Regions from separate parts of the Homo sapiens genome. Here regions 1, 3 and 4 are each linked to region 2. Evidence: promoter capture Hi-C in human tissues and cell types (Jung and others, 2019). All regions are on one chromosome and are shown on one strand. The core of a region is centred on a gene start or on the middle of the fragment in contact, and the rest is flanking DNA. Distances in the headings are between cores, read along the strand shown. Region 1 has its middle 16 kb from the start of GTF2IRD1. Region 2 holds the start of LIMK1 (LIM domain kinase 1). Region 3 overlaps GTF2IRD1 (GTF2I repeat domain containing 1). Region 4 holds the start of GTF2IRD1 (GTF2I repeat domain containing 1).

Region 1 (2,743 bases), core at 28-2,527, 350 kb before region 2:
GATTGAGAGCTTTATCCTTGTGAACTCATGAGGGCTCTACCCTTGTGAATGAATTAGTGCCTTACAAAGGGGCTGGAAAGAACTAGTGTAGGCCCTTTATTGCCCGTCCAGCTCTTCTGCTATGTGAGGACATGGTGTTCAAGGCACCATCTTAGAAGAAAAGACTGGGGCCCTCCCCAGACACTAAACCTGCTGGTGCCTTAATCTTTGCATTCCCAGCTTGCAGACTATTAGAAATAAATTTCTATTATTTATATAGATTATCCAGTCTCAGGTATTTTATTATAGCAGCACAAACAGAGTGAGACAGGAATTGGTACCAGGAGTCGGGTGTTTGTATAACCAAAAACTAAAAATGTGAAAGCAGCTTTGAAACTGACTAATAGGTAGAGGCTGGTCTGTAAAGGGCTATTCTGGTGAAGGCTCAGAAGAAAAGGAAAGCTGCAGGGACAGCCTTAATGTTTTTAGAGATTACGTATGTGGTCATAATCAGAAGGTGGTAAAAATGTGGATGGTAAAGGCAATTCTGATGAGGTCTTAAACAGAAATGAGAAATATTTTATTGGAAACCAGAGAAAAGGTCATCCTTGTTACAAAATGGCAAAGAACTTAGCTGAATTTTGTTCATGTCCTACTACTTTGTGGAAAGTAGAATTTAAGAGTGATGAACTAATATATTTGTTGGAGGAAATCTCTGAGCAAAGTGTTCAGGGTGCTACATGGTTGCTCTTAACTGCTGATAGTAAAATGCAACAAGAGAGGGATTAACTAAAGACAGAATTTATAATAAAAAGGGAGGCAGAATAAAGATTTGAAAAATTCTCAGACTGGCCAGGTTGTAAAAGTGTGTTTAAGACAAAATACCCGGTGGCTCACGCCTGTAATCTCAGCACTTTGGGAGGCTGAGGCGGATGGATCATGAGGTCAGGAGTTTGAGACCAGCCTGACCAACATAGTGAAACCCCGTCTCTACCAAAAATAGAAAAATTAGCCAGGTGTGATGGTGTGCGCCTCTAATCCCAGCTACTCAGGAGGCCGAGGCAGGAGAAACGCTTGAACCCGGGAGGCAGAGGTTGCAGTGAGCTGAGATCACGCCATCACACTCCAGCCTGGATGACAGAGTGAGACTCCATCTCAAAAAAAAAAAAAAAAAAAAAAAAAAAAAAGGGAGAGAGAGAAAAAATACCAAGGGTAATAAGAAGATTAATAAGAGGCCGAGCACGGTGGCTCACACCTGTAATCCCAGCACTTTGGGAGGCCAAGGCAGGTGGATCACTTGAGCCCAGGAGTTTGAGACCAGCCTGGGCAACATGGCAAAACTCTGTCTCCACTAAAAATACAAAAATTAGCAGGGTGTGGTGGCTCATGCCTGTAATCCCAGCTACTCAGGAGGCTGAGGCACAAGAATTGCTTCAGCCTGGGAGGTGGAGGTTGCAGTGAGCCAAGATTGCACCACTACACTCCAGCCTAGGCAACAGAGTGAGACTCTGTCTCAAAAAAAAAAAAAATTATCCAGGTGTGGTGGCACACGCCTATAGTGCCACCTGCTCTGGAGGCTGAGCTGGGAGGATTGCTTGAGCCCAGGATTTCAAGACCAGCTTGGGCAACATGGTGTGACTTCACCTCTACCAAAAAAAAAAAATTTAGTTGGGCATGGTGGCATGTTCTTGTGGTCTCAGCCACTCGAGGCCAGGGGATTACTTAAGCCCAGGAGGCTGAGTCTGCAGTGAGCTATGCTAGCACCACTGCAATCCAGCCTGGGCGACAGAGCAGGAAAATTTAATGTTGTTTGCCCTGTTGGGTTTGGGACTTACTTAGGATCTATTATCCTTTCCTTCTTTCCTTATTCTATTTTTTTTTTCAATCCTTTCCTTCTTTCCTACTTCCCCCTTTCGGAATGGAAACATCTGTCCTGTACCTGGCCCACTGTTGTCTTTTGGAAGCACTTTACTTGTTTGATTTCATAGACTCAGCAGGAGGCATATTGATGCCTCAGGATGAAACACACCCTAGAGTCTTACCCATATCTGAGGTAGATAATATTTAGATGAGACTTTGGACTTGGACTTTAAAGTTGATGCTAGAATCAGTTAAGGCTTTTCAGGGCTACTGGGATAAAATGAGTAGTATGTTTGTTTGTTTGTTTTGTTTTGTTTTGAGACAAGGTCTTACTCTGTTGCCCAGGTTAAAGTGCAGTGGCGCAATTGTGGCTCACTGCAGCCTCGACTTCCTGGGCTTAGGTGATCCTCCCACCTTGGCCTCCCAAAGTGCTGGGATTACAGACGTGAGCCATTGTGCCTGGCTGGAATGAATGTATGTCATATGTGAACGTGAAAAGGACATGAGTTTTGGGGGCCCAGGAGCAGAATGCTATGATTTCAATGATGATGTCTCTTCCAAAATTCATGTTGAGACTTACTCATTGTGGTGGTGGTATTGAGAGGTGGGGTCTTTTTGGGAAGTAATTAGGTCATGAGAGCATGAGCCTACAGATTGGTGCCTTATAAAAGGGCTGGAGGGAACTAGCTTAGGACCCTTTGCCTTTCCACCTTCTGCCATGTGTGAGCAGAGTTCATCCCCCACGCAGGATGCAGCCAAAAGGTGCCATCTTGGAAGCAGAGACTAGGGCCCTCCCCAGGCAGTGAACCTGCTGGCTACTTGATCTTGGACTTCCCAGCCTCTAGAACCATGAGAAAATAAATTTCTGTTCTTTATAAATTCCCCAGTTTCAGGTATTTTGTCT
Region 2 (2,700 bases), core at 157-2,656:
AGGGGGCTGCAGACCTGGGTACTCCCAGACACCTGTCCCAGGGAGGCCTGGCACCTCCTCTAGCCAGCCACAGGCATGCTTAGTCATCCTTGGGGCCTGGCACCCTTGGAGCTGGTGGGCCCTGGAAAATGCCCCAGACCTGCCCCTCTCCACTGTACAGAAGGGGAGACTGAGCCCCAGAGATGGCATGGCTTGCCCAGTCACATAGCTAGGTCCCAAGGCCACAACAGCCTGACCCTCTGTGAAGACGCAGGTACCTTAGGTAGGCAGGGGCTACAGGAAGGTGGGCCCCTACCCCAATCAGGTTTTCATGGGCCTGGGAAGAGTTGGTGGCAGGGGGAGGTGTGGAGTCAGGCCCTGCCTTGGGGCCAGGTGGATCTAAGTGACAGGTCAGCGAAGGAGATCCAAGGAGGGGCCCCCAGACCCTGTCCTAGGCTGGGGGAGTCCTTGAACCCTAACTGCAGTGCAGTACTGCGCCTTGGGCCCCAGTGAGGGAGAAGGGGCTAAAGAGGAGGTTAGGATGAGTCATGCTCCCAGCCAAGACTGAGGGCAGGCACCGGGTTTGGGGCACGGACAGGGAGAGTGGATGAGGCTCCCGCAGTACACGGCCTCCGGCTTCCTGGACGCCTATCTCCGCTCTACCCATCTGGCCCCCAATCACCGACACCGGGGGGGCAACTACCCAGTTTCCAAATGTACAGAAGGGGAAACTGAGGACCAGGAAGTCAGCGCCTGGCTCAAGGTCACAGAGCCGGGCAGGCGCCCGGCGGCCACTGGGACCCGGGGCTGCGGCTTCCCCAGCCGCTCTTTCTTCCGAGACTGGATAAAGGGTGGCCCCAGGGCGAGGCCCGGGTGGTGGACAGAGCACGCGGATGGAGGCCGACGCGGGGTGGGCAGTGTCTGGGAGTCCTTCGCGGGGGGACGTGGGAGGAGGAAAAAGGGTCCAGGGGCCCCCAGACCCGCAGGAGGGCAGCTCGCCGGGGGCCGGGGAGGGGGATCCCGGGCGGGAGGGGGACAGGGAGGGGCCTGCGGGCTTCGTAAGGACGAGCTCATCCCGGAGGAGGCAGGGGCGCGGCCTCCTGGCAGACCCGGCCCCCTCCCGTGCCCCACGCTGCCCCGGGCACCCCCTCCAGGCCCTCGCCCCACACCCCGCGGCCCGCGCACCTTCCTCTCCCATACGTTCTTCCCTCCAGGTGCAACAAAGTAGCGTCAACCTCATGCACTCGACGGGGGGCGGGGCCCGGCGGGGCTGGGGCTGGGGGCGGCCGGGCCCGCGAGCTCGCCCACCGCCGCCGGCCCGGGGAGGCGGGGGCGGAGGGCGCGGGCCGGGCCGGGCCGGGCCGGGGGCGCCTCTCGGACACCGGCGGGGAAACCGGCTCGGCGCCGCGGCGGCTTGGGGAGCGAGCGGAGGGGCGGACCGAGGCGGGGCCTGTGAGCTGCGGCACGGGGGCGGGGCGCGGGCGGCCGGCGGCGGGAACGGCCCTGCGCGGCCCCGCCCCCACCAGAAAACCCCGCCCCCACGCCCAAGGCCACGCCTCTAGAGGCCACGCCCCGCTGCGGCCCGGCCTGGGGGCGCCGCGAGCTGGCGCGGCGCGCCCCGCCCCTCCCCGCCCCTTCCGCCCTTCATTCATTCTTCTTTCTCCCAGCGACAGGCCTCGGCTGGGAGCTGCGAGGCCCAGCTGTCTCGGAGGGCCGCTAGCTCTGCTGGGGCAGGCCAGGAGGATGTAGGAGCCTAGAGAAGGGGCCTCCGCTTCCCTGCGCGAGGCCCCCACAGACCCAAACCAGCTGCAGCCGGGAACTCGGATCAGAGCTGGAGAGGCCCTGTGGACCCCCAGGACACTGGTGGTCGCCTTGGGGAGGGGAGGGAGGCGGGCCGGGTTTTGTCCCTCTCTCTGAGGCCTGCATTGAGGCCAGGCTGGGCCCGGGGAAGGTGACGGTCCGCGTCTCAGGCCTCGCGAATGAGCAGCACCAGAGAAAGGAGCGAGCCCCTGCCAGGCGGTGACAGGTGTACTCTTCTCAGTGCCGATTACCTGGAGCTGGGGCTGCCCTGCCCAGGGTCCTGGAGGGAGCACGGGTTTGGGCTGAGTCAAGCGTCCAAAGGAATTGGGTGGTCCAGTCCAGCACTGATGGTGGAACGCCCTGCCTAGATGTGGACAATTCTAGAATGCTGGACATGGGCAGGAAGCAACCCTGTCCCCCCTAGGTCTACCTTCCACGTCATCCCTCTGCCCAGGAAGCAGTGACCGGAGTGGAGCCACGTGCCCACGTGAACCCAGTGAACAAGAGGCAGCGCTAGCCCAGCTCCAACTCTAGTCATCATGTTTGTGGGGAGAGGTCTAGGCACGTCTGCAAAGTGGGGGGCACTCACCCCTGGGTGCAAAACAATTACGTGGGGTGGGAAGAAAATACTAGATTTTTTTTTTCTTTTTTTAGATTCGGTCTCGCTCTGTTGCCTAGGCTGGAGTGCAGTGGCGGGATCTCGGCTCACCGCAGTCTCCACCTCCCAGGTTCAAGCAATTCTCCCACCTTAGCCTCCCGAGTAGCTGATATTACAGGCGTGCACCACCATGACCGACTAATTTTTGTATTTTTAGTAGAGATGAGGTTTCACCATGTTGACCAGGCTGGTCCTGAACTCCTGACCTCAGGTGATCCACCCTCCTCGGCTTCCCAAAGTGCTGGGATTACAGGTGTGAGCCA
Region 3 (2,700 bases), core at 179-2,678, 500 kb before region 2:
GTATATTTAGTAGAGATGGGGTTTTGCCATATTGGCCAGGGTGGTCTCAAACTCCTGAGCTCAGGTGATCTGCCTGCCTCGGTCTCCCAAAGTGCTGGGATTACAGGCGTGAGCCACTGTGCCCAGCCTGACTCCTGTTTTTTGAGACAGGGTCTCACCCTGTTTCCCAGGTTGGAGTACAGTGGTGCCATCATAGCTCACTGCAGCCTTGAACTCTTTGGCTCAAGCAATCCTCCCCACTCAGCCTCTCAAGTAGCTGGGGCTCCAGGCATGAATCACCATGCCAGACTAAGTTTTTTTAAAATTTTTTGTAGAGAGAGTCTCTCTCTGTTGCACAGGCTGTTCTCGAACTCCTAAGCTCAAGCGATCCTCCTGTCCGCAGCCTCCGAAAGTGCTGGGATTACAGTTGTGAGCCACTGTGTCTGGCTCTTTTAATCTTGAAAACTCTGGGAAGAGCTCACTTCTGTTTAGGAGGCTGCCTTGGGAACTGCATCTCCTGGCGTGGTGCTCTGTGCTGCTTAGAGTCTGCTGACCCCGTCTGGGTGGCTTGGCCTCCCGTGCGCAAGCTGCCAGAATGGAGGCCCTGTTCCCCATGTGGGGGTTGCCCCAAAGAGCAGGGAGCTTCCCACAGGACAGAGGCTGGGCACCTGCTTGGCCTGGTTCCTCCTTTTCCCAGGGCTCCAACACCCACCACCTCAGGTCCTCCCAAACCCTGCAGGTCCCTGGCCTGGTCCGTCCACACCCACACTCAGCAATCTCTGCACATCTCTGAGTTGCTGATCTGTCTTCAGGCACGGCCCGCCAGCCCCCCTGCGTGCCCAGAGACACTGCAAACATCAGCCATTCCAGACAACGTCCTCCTCCCGTGTCCCTATCTCGTGGAGTAATGCCTCTAATTCAGCCACACAAAGACCCCACGCTCCACATCCCCTAGAACCCTCGTCTTCTCCTGTGACCCAACACGGGCCTTCCTTTCAGGACTAGGATGTGGGAAGAATCAAGGCCACCCTTGTCCAAATCCATGCAGACAACAGTGATGGAGTCCTGGGCCCAAGGACCAGCTCCTAGAGCCTGCAGGGAAGCAACAGCACATTCCATCTGTCCCCATGCCACTGAGGAATCTTTGGTGGCAGGATTCTCAGCAGGCATGGCCATGCATGCACAGAACAGAGAAAGGATGGCCTGGATCACACACATCACTGTGTGCAGATGCTTTCCTAGACACTGCAGCCAAAGACACAGAGGCTCAGAGAGGTAAAGAAACTTGCCCAAGGTCACACAGCCTCTAAGCACCAGGAGTACTCTGTGTCAACCCCAAAGCCCTGGTCTTTCCACTCTACCATGAGCCCTGGGTTTCCTGAGGTCTCAGATTCCTCTACAGTTTCTTTCTTTTTCTTTTTTTTTTTGGAAGAGTCTTGCTCTGTCACCCAGGCTGGACTGGAGTGCAGTGGTGCGATCTTGGCTCACTGCAACCTCTGCCTGCTGGGTTCAAGTGATTCTCCTGCCTCAGCCTCTCGAGTATCTGGGATTACAGGCACCCACCATCACACCTGGCTGATTTTTGTATTTTTAGTAGAGATGGGGTTTCACCATGTTACTCAGGCTGGTCTCCAACTCCTGGCCTCAGGTGATTCGCCCACCTCGGCCTCCCAAAGTGCTGGGATTACAGACGTGAACCACCATGCCCAGGCTCCCCTACAGTAGCTGTAGAAAGAAGGCTTAATCTTTAAGATAGTTTCCTCTAATCTGTTGCTCTCAGCCCACAATGCCACACCTCTGTCTTCTCCTGTGTCGGGACAGAGCGAGACTCAAAGTCAGAGCTCTACGAAACCTGCAGGACAGAAAGAAGCTTAGCAGGCCTCTCAAAGACGAGGCCCAGACCGGGCACGGTGACTCACGCCTATAATCCCAGCACTCTCAGAGGCCGAGGCAGGTGGATCACTTGAGGTCAGGAGTTCCAGACCAGCCTGGCCAACATGGTGAAACCCCGTCTCTACTAAAAATACAAAAAATTAGCTGGGCGTGGTGGTGCATGCCTGTAATCCCAGTTACTCAGGAGGCTGAAGCAGGAGAATCCCTTGAACTGGGAGGTGGAGGTTGCAGTGAGCTGAGATTGCGCCACTGCACTCCAGCCTAGGCGACAGAGCAAGACTCCGTCTCAAAAAAAAAAAAAAAAAAAACACCAAACAGGCTGGGCGCGGTGGCTCACATCTGTAATCCCAGCACTTTGGGAGGCCGAGGTGGGTGGATCACCTGAGCTCAGAAGTTCGAGACCAGCCTGTCCAACGTGGTGAAACCCCGTCTCAACTAAAAGTACAAAATTTAGCCAGGCGTGGTGGCAGGTGCCTGTAATCCCAGCTACTCCGGGGGCGGAGGCAGGAGAATCGCTTAAACCTGGGAGGCGGAGGTTACAGAGAGCCAAGATCGCGCCATCGTACTCCAGCCTGGGGGACAAGAGCGAGACTTCATCTCAAAACAACAACAACACACAAAAAACCCAAACAAACAAAAAACATGGGACCCCAAACTTACTATGCCAAAGGGAAATGTTAAGCTTGGGAACTGAGTCACGCAATAGCCTTTTGTTCCTAAACAGATGGCTGCAAGATAGAAGGCCACCTAGCTCCCCTGGTGGCCTCCCTCACCCTGGCCATGTAAATTCACAGCTTATCTTCACAGGCAGGGGACAAAGATAAGAAT
Region 4 (2,700 bases), core at 1-2,500, 370 kb before region 2:
GGATGGGGACACAGGAGACTCCCACCGCAGGACCTTGGTCCTGGGAGGTAGGGTCACTAGGCCAGACGCCAGAGCTCCAGCCCCCTCCAGCACTGCCAGGAGGGTGGAACGAACTCTCAGCGGCACAGCGGCCCCCTTCCCTGGGCCCACGCCAGGCGAGGCAGGGTCTCACTCCCTGGCTGCTGGCCAGGGGTGAGGAGCCCAGGAGAGGTGTCAAGCCCATCATGCCCAGGGTACTTAGGATGGGGCGGGTGGGTGTTCAGCACCCTGTGGCCCCTCCTCTGTCCTCTCCACCCATCTGCAGGAACTCAGAGACCACCCACAGACCGAGTATCCCCAACTTACTCCTCTGAACCCTTTGTGGTCCCCCCACTGCCACCTTCTGAGTCCCCTCCACCCGGGATTCAGCGGCCACCACCACACAGGCCAGCCCCCTCCCCGGGGCCGGGGCGGGGGGTCCACTACAGGAACCACCCTGCTGGGGCAATCCTGGCTGGACTGGACTCCGCCTGGGAGTTGGGGGCGCGGGCCAGGGGCTGGCCCAGACCGGGAGAAGGTGGAGGGGGGAAAGGCGGGGACCGCGGCCTTCCCAGCCCCCTCTGCTCCCACCCCGGCGCCCGCCACCGCGGGCAGCGCGACTGACCTCATTCGCCAACTGCAGCAGCCTGCGGGCGCCGGCCCGGGACGCCCCCCACCTCCAGAAGAGCCGGTGGCAAGGAGGGAGGGGGTGACAGCTCCCAGCTCCCGGCCCCTCCCGGGCAGGTGGGGGGCGGCCGTCCCTCCCCTCCCCCCGGGCCCGAATTATAATCCCAGTCACGTGCCTCCCCGGGCACCCAAAAGCCGGCCCCAGCTCCTGTAACACCTTGAGAGGGGGAGGGGCGGGGACCCCCCCCCCCGGAGGCGGAGGGGATCGGGGGCGGGGGTGGGGGAGAAGGGGAGAAGGGCCTCGGTGCCCGCCCCCCGCAAAAGTTTCTCCTACCTTGGAGGATCCCCAAGCGCTCCTGCCAGCGGCGCCCCGGCCCCGGCCCGCGGCCAGGACTCAGCCTCCTGCCGCTGCCTCCTTAATTAATCCGGGAGAATGGGGGAAGGAGAGGCAGAGGGAGGCGAGGACGGCGGCGCGGCGAGGGCGGGGAGGGAGGCGCGGGGAGGGGGCGCGGGGGGGGAATCGGCCGGCCGGGGGGCTGGCGCTCGGCGGCCCCCACCCCCGGCGCGGGCTGCGGCGGAGGGCGGGGCGGCGCGGGGAGAGGAGCGGAGAGCGGGAGCGCGGGGAGGCTCTTTGTTCTGTAATCCCAGTAAGATTGCCAGCCATTCGCCCCGGCCCTAATCCCAGCCCCGCGCAACACCACCCTCCATTGGCTGCCATTTACATACGGGATTAGCCCGCCCCGCGCCCCGCGCCCCTGCGCACCCCCCTTGCTACCCAGCGCCCCTGCGTCCCGGGGACCTGGGCACCGCGGTGGGGAGAGCGCGCCGCACCCCTCGGCCCCGGACCTGCGGGGAGGGGCGGTGGCGCCCTCGGTTCTCCCCCACCAGCGCCGGATTAGAAAAGCCTGGGCGCGCCCCCGTCTACCCCCACCGCTCCCCACCACCACTGGGAGAGCAGCCGGGCGCAGGGGGCTGAAGTTGGAGGGTCAAGGTCACCCAGCTGGAACGCGCGGAGGCCCTGAGTGTCCCGGCTGGTCACTCCCGCCTGGCCCGGGTTCTAGTCCTAAGGCTTGGGCCAGGTACCTCTTACTCTTACAGCCTTTGTCCCCCTCCCACCCCTGAGATGTGCAGGAAGGCAGTGACAGGCCGAAAGTCGCAGCAGAGCCAACTGGACTCTTGGTCCCATCTTGTCTGATGGGACCTCCCTCTGATAGGCTTTTACCCCTGTCCCCCCAACCAGCCCCCCCGCCCCCCGCCCGCCCCGCTCCCACCAACCACACACACACCACAGCAGCGCTCCTACTGAATCAGTGCGCACGCCTCCCATCCGGCCCCAAAGCCATAAATCCTAATTCAGCACAAGGAACACAGTCCTTCCCCCACGTGGTGCCCTGATCCCTGAACTAGACCTTGGCTAGACTGGGCATGGCAGGGAGGGAGGGACTCACCCCAGGCAGGCCCCAACCCCAGGGAGCTTCTGGCTTAGAAGGACAGCCAAACATAGATCGAGAATCTCCCAGGTCCTGGCAAAACCCACAAGGTCTCCCCACAGCCTCCTGGCCAAACTGCCTTTGCAAAGATTAGGACAGTGACAGAAGTTTAGCGTGGCTGACTCCATCTTGCTTCCAGCCTCACGCGCTGGCTGTCTTCACTCATTCCGGGGCATAGGCCAAGCTAACCGGGGGAGGAATTTAGTTTATAGTTCAACTTTGAAACAAGGATGATAATAGTTACTCCTTAAACCTAACCTGCTTTTTATACAAGAGACCAAAACCACCTTTGTAAAACTAACGAAAGGCCGTGAGATTAGGATTATGGGAGGGGCCTGGACGCTGCTAAAACCTACGCATCGTTTTTATAATCTGACTGCTCAGGAGTCATGTGGCGAGAGATCACAAGATTTGTGAGTTCCCCACTTCCTCCTATAGATAGCATCTCTATTGTGGAAACTGAGATTGGTCTTTGGAGATGTTTTTCAGACTTTCGCATTCGGGCAACCGACTGACTCACCTGGACCTGTGTGACTCATGACTCAGCCCATCCTGTGGCCCCCAC

The links. Contacts are between HindIII fragments. The study calls those that stand out against the background at their distance.
Region 1: a fragment that was not itself captured here is called in contact with the fragment with the promoter of LIMK1 in region 2 in 2 of the 25 tissues and cell types used here (mesenchymal stem cells and spleen).
Region 3: a contact is called between a fragment that was not itself captured here and the fragment with the promoter of LIMK1 in region 2, in 4 of the 25 tissues and cell types used here (bladder, liver, lymphoblastoid cells and 1 more).
Region 4: the fragment with the promoter of GTF2IRD1 here is called in contact with the fragment with the promoter of LIMK1 in region 2 in 1 of the 25 tissues and cell types used here (stomach).

Annotation. Positions count from the first base shown.
Region 1 is chr7:74,436,153-74,438,895 of GRCh38, reverse strand. No RefSeq gene overlaps it. Among named protein-coding and RNA genes, the nearest start is that of GTF2IRD1, 16 kb to the left of the region's middle. The HindIII fragment of the contact is 4,196 bases long and covers 1-2,743 here.
Region 2 is chr7:74,082,510-74,085,209 of GRCh38, reverse strand. LIMK1 (LIM domain kinase 1) reads right to left here and starts at 1,406. Exons shown (of 16, transcript NM_002314.4): 1 at 1,165-1,406. The coding sequence starts at 1,219. RefSeq lists enhancers at 1-81, 593-862, 1,349-2,027, 1,923-2,032, 2,028-2,700 and silencers at 1,053-1,102, 1,213-1,262, 1,383-1,652. The HindIII fragment of the contact is 14,309 bases long and covers 1-2,700 here.
Region 3 is chr7:74,584,591-74,587,290 of GRCh38, reverse strand. All of the region lies in intron 22 of GTF2IRD1 (GTF2I repeat domain containing 1), which reads right to left. Among named protein-coding and RNA genes, the nearest start is that of MIR10525, 10 kb to the left of the region's middle. RefSeq lists an enhancer at 1-91. The HindIII fragment of the contact is 6,527 bases long and covers 1-2,700 here.
Region 4 is chr7:74,452,456-74,455,155 of GRCh38, reverse strand. It overlaps GTF2IRD1 (GTF2I repeat domain containing 1), which reads right to left and starts at 1,250. Exons shown (of 27, transcript NM_005685.4): 1 at 980-1,250. RefSeq lists silencers at 628-697, 1,200-1,549 and an enhancer at 2,435-2,700. The HindIII fragment of the contact is 14,749 bases long and covers 1-2,700 here.